Regions from separate parts of the Homo sapiens genome. Here region 2 is linked to region 1. The links are contacts of gene promoters, found by promoter capture Hi-C in human tissues and cell types (Jung and others, 2019). All regions are on one chromosome and are shown on one strand. The core of a region is centred on a gene start or on the middle of the fragment in contact, and the rest is flanking DNA. Distances in the headings are between cores, read along the strand shown.

The links. Contacts are between HindIII fragments. The study calls those that stand out against the background at their distance.
Region 2: a fragment that was not itself captured here is called in contact with the fragment with the promoter of MASP1 in region 1 in 2 of the 25 tissues and cell types used here (ovary and psoas muscle).

What each region holds. Positions count from the first base shown.
Region 1 is chr3:187,290,034-187,293,416 of GRCh38, reverse strand. It overlaps MASP1 (MBL associated serine protease 1), which reads left to right and starts at 1,680. Exons shown (of 11, transcript NM_139125.4): 1 at 1,680-1,789. The coding sequence starts at 1,785. LOC101929130 (a long non-coding RNA gene) reads right to left here and starts at 2,145. Exons shown (of 2, transcript NR_135551.1): 1 at 1,881-2,145. The HindIII fragment of the contact is 8,732 bases long and covers 1-3,383 here.
Region 2 is chr3:187,351,490-187,355,017 of GRCh38, reverse strand. No RefSeq gene overlaps it. Among named protein-coding and RNA genes, the nearest start is that of RTP4, 15 kb to the left of the region's middle. The HindIII fragment of the contact is 7,930 bases long and covers 1-3,528 here.

The DNA.
Region 1 (3,383 bases), core at 431-2,930:
GAACGTGCCAAAGGAACGTTATCTGAGGGTAGACAGTGCATGTGTCTGCCGCTTTGGTGAGTGTGGCTGGCAGCCCTCTCTCTGGTACTCCCCTGGACACTTCTACAAGCACAGTCTTATTTAAGCCTCATAGTAACTCCCATTTTCCAAATGAAGACACAGAATCAGATACCTTAAGTATTGTGCCCAAAGTACACAGCTGTCTTGGGTAGAAAGGAAAGATTACAGCTAAACTCTGAGTCTAATCTTCTTTTCAAAATGACTCAGATTGAGTTTCTCTATGAATGCCGTCTGTGTGTGTGCATTTGAAATTCCATATGCATTATAAAATGTTAATGAGTAGCAGTGTAATACAGTGGCTAACACTTCAAATTCTGCCTCTATTACTTTCTAGCTGTGTGAACTTGGGAAAGTTACTTAACCTCTCTGGGCAATTTCCTCTGAAAAATGAGAATATTGCCAGCCATGTATACAACATATAAAGATGACTGAAAAGAATTCATATATTAAGTGCTTAGAGCAGTGCCTGACACGTAGCACTCAATAGCTGTTAGCTTCTAGTGCTAGTGGCAGTGGGGAGTCATAAATAACTGGATGATCTTGGCAAGTGGCATATTCTCTCTGAGCCTTAGTGTCCTCACTTGTAAAATGAGTATAACAGCAGCACTTTCACCAGTTTGCAAAAGTAACTTGAGATGATGTTAATGACTAGTACTGTGTCTAACACAGAAAAGGTGCACAGTCAAACTTAACTTTTACACCCAGATACACCTCTCCCTATTCAGTGTTGGTTGTTGTTGTTGTGGAGGGGGTAATTTTCTTATTATTCAGCTCATCTTAGATCTAGTGTTGATTTCTCCGGAAGCCATGGGTATAGACATATATACAGGCCCAGGTCTTTCTACACCCCTGGGGAGGTGAGATTTCTTGCTGCGATGGGCCCTTTCTGGGCTGGAGTAGAGCCGCACACACTCCGAGCAAGTAAACAGTGCCACAGGTATTGCTCATGGGGAGGAACAACCAGCCAACTTCAGGACTTGGTGCTTCCCCAGTTCCGGGCCCGTGGCTCTGTTCACAGGAAAACCTGTCGTTGTGTGTGACTCTGATCACGAGAAAACCTGTAGTTATTTGGGGCTCTGCTCACAAGGAAACCTGTAGTTATTTGCAGACAGACGCTCTGGGATTTAGACCTTTTTTTTTTCTTCTAGTGTAGGTGCTAGAATTGCCTTCTTAGTTGGTTGTTTCTATTTAATTGCTTTTCTTTCATGGGTGTCCTGAAGAAAAGCAGAAAATTATAGTCATCTGGCAAAAAAGACTAAAGAGAAATTAGACTTTGTCCCCTTTCACTCTCTCTCTCTCTCTCTCTCTACACACACACACACACACACACACACACACACAGAGTGATACAAATACCTGCTTGAGCCCCTCAGTTATTTTCTCTCAAGGGCTGAAGTCAGCCACACAGGATAAAGGAGGGAAGGGAAGGAGCAGATCTTTTCGGTAGGAAGACAGATTTTGTTGTCAGGTTCCTGGGAGTGCAAGAGCAAGTCAAAGGAGAGAGAGAGGAGAGAGGAAAAGCCAGAGGGAGAGAGGGGGAGAGGGGATCTGTTGCAGGCAGGGGAAGGCGTGACCTGAATGGAGAATGCCAGCCAATTCCAGAGACACACAGGGACCTCAGAACAAAGATAAGGCATCACGGACACCACACCGGGCACGAGCTCACAGGCAAGTCAAGCTGGGAGGACCAAGGCCGGGCAGCCGGGAGCACCCAAGGCAGGAAAATGAGGTACGTGCCAGGGGAGGAGAGGGCACGGTTCCCTTTTGGGGACCAGTGTCAAATAGCAGGGAAGGTCTGACCTTGTCACTGACAGACTCACCTGCGTGTCCTGCATGTGGTAGTGAGGGGCTTTCTCATCAATTCTTAGGGCTCTGAGAAGGGAGCTGTGGGTGGGCTGGGTGCCTTCCCCAGGACTCCAGGAGACATAAAACTTGAAACGGGAGACTTCGTGCAAATCCTGCTCCGGACGCTGCTGAAGCTCAGATTTCTCCCACTGCCTGCACAGGGTGCTGCCTGCTGGCGAATGTGACTCTCCTCCTGTTCACCCACAAGGCTGATTTTTCCGTGTTCCTCCTCTGGAAAGAGCATTGCTTTCTCTCTTCCAGCACTTTGTGAGTTAGATATGTGTTTGTGTGTTCATTCCTTCTGACCAGAAAAGAAACCAGCTTCCCATAGCTTGGCTCTGTGGTTTCTTCAACCTTTACAAGTTTGCCAGTTAAACCTCAATTTAGAAAACTAAAAATCTGTCCCCATTTTACAGTTCCCTATAAATTTTCTGCATTTCTCATTGAAATCAGAGGCAGCTGGTGGCATGAATCAGGCTATGAAGTACACCAAATGGCTCTTAAAGAGATATCATACTTAAAAAAAAAAAAAGGATTTTAGAGTTCTGAAATCAAGAACTTCAAATTCTAATTGGTTTTAAACTCTTTAACCTTTCTTATTCCTCATTATACTTGACACTCCTTACCAGACCTTTCATACAAGTTCTATCCTGCAAGTCTGAAAACCCAACCACCCTAGTTATTTTTATTAGTTAAGTGTTAATGCTGTTACACACACACACACACACACACACACACACAATGCTCTGCAGATGTGTAAGTCCCTAAACACATCTTTTACTATTAATTTTCTTTTCACTTGGGAAAGTGTTTTTATTTGTTTCTCTTCTGCAAAGTAACCTAGCAACTTTTCTGGACCTGAGACCAATGAGAGGCTTCAGACTATGTTAACTCTTTGAACTCCGATTACCTGTGGTTCAGAGAGATAACCAGGTCCTTAAAAAGTGAGTGCAATAATTCTGTTCTTCTTAAAGCCATAGTAATTTTAAACCTGCCATTAAACATCATTTTTCTTTCTCCAAAAAAAAGTGATTTATGTCAATCTACATTGAATGATAATCTCATTTATCTGTCAATGATCTGGTCTGAATCCCACCCTACCATTCAGTGCCCCAGCCCATATCAAACTACTTGGCTGAGTAACAATTCTGTATCTTTGCATATGCTCATCCCTCAACCTGGAGCAACCTTCTTCTTTATTTTCCACCTAGAAGACCTGATTGTTCAAGCTGGCACAAATATCTCTTTCTCTCTCCTGACCACCATATTCCAGAGTGAGCATCCCCTCCTTTGTCCTTTGTTCTGTTTCTGTCCCTTGAAGCTGCATCTCTTATTGTCCTTGTAGTATCCCCTTGTTTAAATGTCCACCTCCCCTTACAAGTCTCAGCACTCCTTAAGTTACATGATCTATGTCTTCATCTTTGTATGGCCAGCACCTAGCATAATGTCTATTTCCTACCAGCCATTCAATACCTATT
Region 2 (3,528 bases), core at 41-2,540, 62 kb before region 1:
GTGGCAACAAGAACTTCCTGTCAGTCTCTGTGACGACCTGCCCAAGTCACTGATGGCTGCCTTGCCTGGCTTTTATCTTAGATGTACACATGACCACTTCTCCTGGATTCCATGTTGGTGCTCTTCCCATGGACTCACTGACTGAGCTGCTGTCTCTCAATGTTCGTGGTTCTTTTCTGAGCTTGTGTGTGAGCATGTCTCTTGAGCCAGCTGGAAGCTCAATGCAGGCAGGGCAGGGGAAGCAGACAAGCTCATTTAGGAAGCTGGATCCACTGCTGCGGAGGTCAGGGAGTAAACATGGCGGCCTCCAATGGGAGACACTAAAGAGTAGATTCTTTCTTACTCGTTGTTGATTGAGGCAGTATGGAAAGATTTGTTTTGTTTTATATGTAGGTTTAATTTTATTTTTTATGTAACAAACAAAGCCCTGTTTGAAGTGTTTTACAAATGTTAACTTGCTCAATCTTCATAACAACTTCACGGGGTAGCTGCCATTTTTATTATCCCTGTCGAAATACTTTGTGCACACAGCTGATAAGTGGAAGAGCCAGGATTCCAAACCAGATAGTTTAACTCTAGAACCTTGCTTTACTGCCTCTCTCATTGCTGGGCCTTCCCACATGAGCTCTCCTTGTCTGGAGGCTCCTTCAGCATCTCTTTACCTGGCCCATGCCGACCTGCCCTTGAAGTATTACTCAGTATTCTCCTCTAATAAATAAGCTTTTTCTGCTTCCCCAGGCCTAGATTTGGTGCCTGCTCTATGTGCTTCCGTAGCACCCAGGGCATCTTGTATAACAATTTCACACTACAAACCTATTGACTTGACTGATCTCTTCTATGACTTAAACTCTTTAAGAGCAGGAACATTTCTTTGGCTGGTACACATTGCACTCTCACGCTCAGTAATGAAACACAGTTGACCCTTGAACAGCACAGGTTTGAAGTGAGTGGGTCCACTTATACATGGGTTTTCTTCACCTCTGCCACCCCTGAGACAAGACAGCAAGACCAACTTCTCCCCCTCAGTCCACGCAATGTGAAGATGACAAGGATGCAGACCTTTATGATCATCCACTTTTACTTAACGAATAGTAAATCTATTTTCTCTTCCTTATGATTTTCTCAGAAACATTTTGTTTTATCTAGCTTACTTTATTGTAAAAATATAATAAATAATATATATAATACAAAATACATGTTAGTAGGCTGGTTATGTTATCAGTAAGGCCTCCAGTCAACAATGTGCTATTAGGAGTTAAGTTTTGGGGGAGTCAGAAGTCGTACACAGATGTTTAACTGTGTGGTGGGGGCGGGTTGGTGCCCCTAACCCCCACATTGTTCAAGGGTCAACTGTACCTGGCAAGTAGTACATGCTAAAAAAAATTGCTTACATATATAAGTAAATCTAAATATTCCTATTTTAATATTAAAGTATAATGTCATTCTATAAATGCCCATTAGCCTCCCTGCTCCCCACTCATTGAGTTTGACTTAACAGAGTATCAAAGTAAAATAAAAATAACGGGTAAGAGGTTTTCCCAACTTTGCTCTCAAAACTGAATCACACTATTTAAACAAACTACATGATTAATATAGTAGATTCACAAAAGTAAATAAATCTATCCCTGTGTATCTCTACCACTTGCGCACTTGGCTAATTCTGAGAACACACTTAGAAGAGGCATTAAAAACCTGAATATATTACGGATGACTATCCCTTAGCCATTTAACCCTTTCACCTGGGTAGCAGCTGTGTGGCGGAGCAGGAAATAGTGAATTAACGCCACCTCAGCCCTGGAGGCAGCGGCAATGCCAATATGAGTATAAGCCAATTAGTGAGACCTCATGCTTCTTCAATAACAAGGAGTTCAGGTATTGCAGTCTGACCCAGTCAGTCCCATCTCCTACTGGGTCATGTGCTGTGCAGACGTGAACTGTGGGAACTGCTGCAAATTTTTTGTCTCCTTAAGGGAGGTCTGGCTTGGGGTGAAGACATCTGGAAAGCAGAGAACAAAGACTAAAAGAAACTTGGTCCTTGACAACCTCATTAGGCTATGAGGAAAAAGTCCTGTAGCGTTCAGCTTATCTCAGTGAACTGAGTGCTCATTCCCTTTATTGCCTAGACTTGTTTGGATTAGGTTTCCTGGTCCATGCACCGTGAAGGGAGTGCCAGCACACTGGAGCACGCCCGAGGACATATGAGCCGGGTGGCATGGAACTCTGAGGGTCAGCAAATGAGGCCACTGCCCCAGCTAGCTCTCAGATCACATGAAACATGGGAAAGGAAAGAAGCCTGAGCAGAGAATTCCAAGACCCTGACCATCATTTTCTCGAGCCTTCTGCCTACCCTTGTCAGGCTTCAGGAATGCAGACAGGCAAAGAAGAACTGCTGTATATCCAAACCTATTCAGCCCCTCCTTGTCTAGACCTAAAAATTTAAAAGGTCCACAAATAGTTCTTGAGCGATTCAGGCTCAACATCCAATACTGGGAAGGACAGGCTTCTGAAATCAGAGAACTTCATATTAAATAAAATTACTAGGGAATAGAGAGAACATTTCATTTGGATTCTGAGAATCTTAAATAAATATTTCTTTTAAAATGACATCATGCAGTTTTAAAGACTGCAAACAAAGAATATCACCAACAAAATTCAAACGGCAAAGGGGCACTAAATATCATGGAAAACCAAAGCAGGAGGGCAAAAGTTCAAAAACGTCTCCCAAAATCAAAGAAAAGAGAGAAGGTGGTGAACCATTGAAAAACAAAGATGTAAAGAACAAATGCAGAAGATCCCATTTAGGTATACAAAAAATATGGTAGGAGAAAAGTGCAAATTGAGGAGAAACAATTAAAGAAGAAAAAAAATGTTTCTGAGTCAAAAAAGACATGTTCGGGTTTGAAAGGACTTCATAAGAAGCAATCAAAATTAATCAATAGAGTTTTCTACATACACATACTCTGGTAAGTTTTAAGTTTTTTTAGATTGGTTGGGTGAGGTGTCTTACATGTATCCAGGCAGGGATGGGAGGAAATGGCTTACCTACAAAGCAACAAAAATTAGGTTGGCTTCAGGTCCTTTCTCATTAATATTAAATTCCAGCAAATATGATGCAACTTTTGCAGAGTTTAAAGGAAAAATATTCGAGTCTGAAAAATCTATCAAGTTATTTTCACTTGCAAAATGGAAAGAAAAAAAGGATCCTTAACAAGTAGAAACTCAATATATATATCTGCGCTTCCCAGAAACCTTATTAAAATTGTGCTCTAAAAGATAATTAAAATAAATACTCTAGGATGGGAATGTCTTTAGTGCTGCCATATTTAACATACATTTTGCTTTTAGTATCTAACTTTTTTTAACCATATTTAAACTTTCTTACTATTCTGCATACAATGTTAAATCCTAATATGTAACCTCCACAAAGCAGGGAGTTTGGCTTGTTTTTGTTCACTTCCACACCAAAACCAGAAAACCATACAGAATTGGTCCTTAAGAAATGTATGTTGAAGGAATGAATGAACTAAC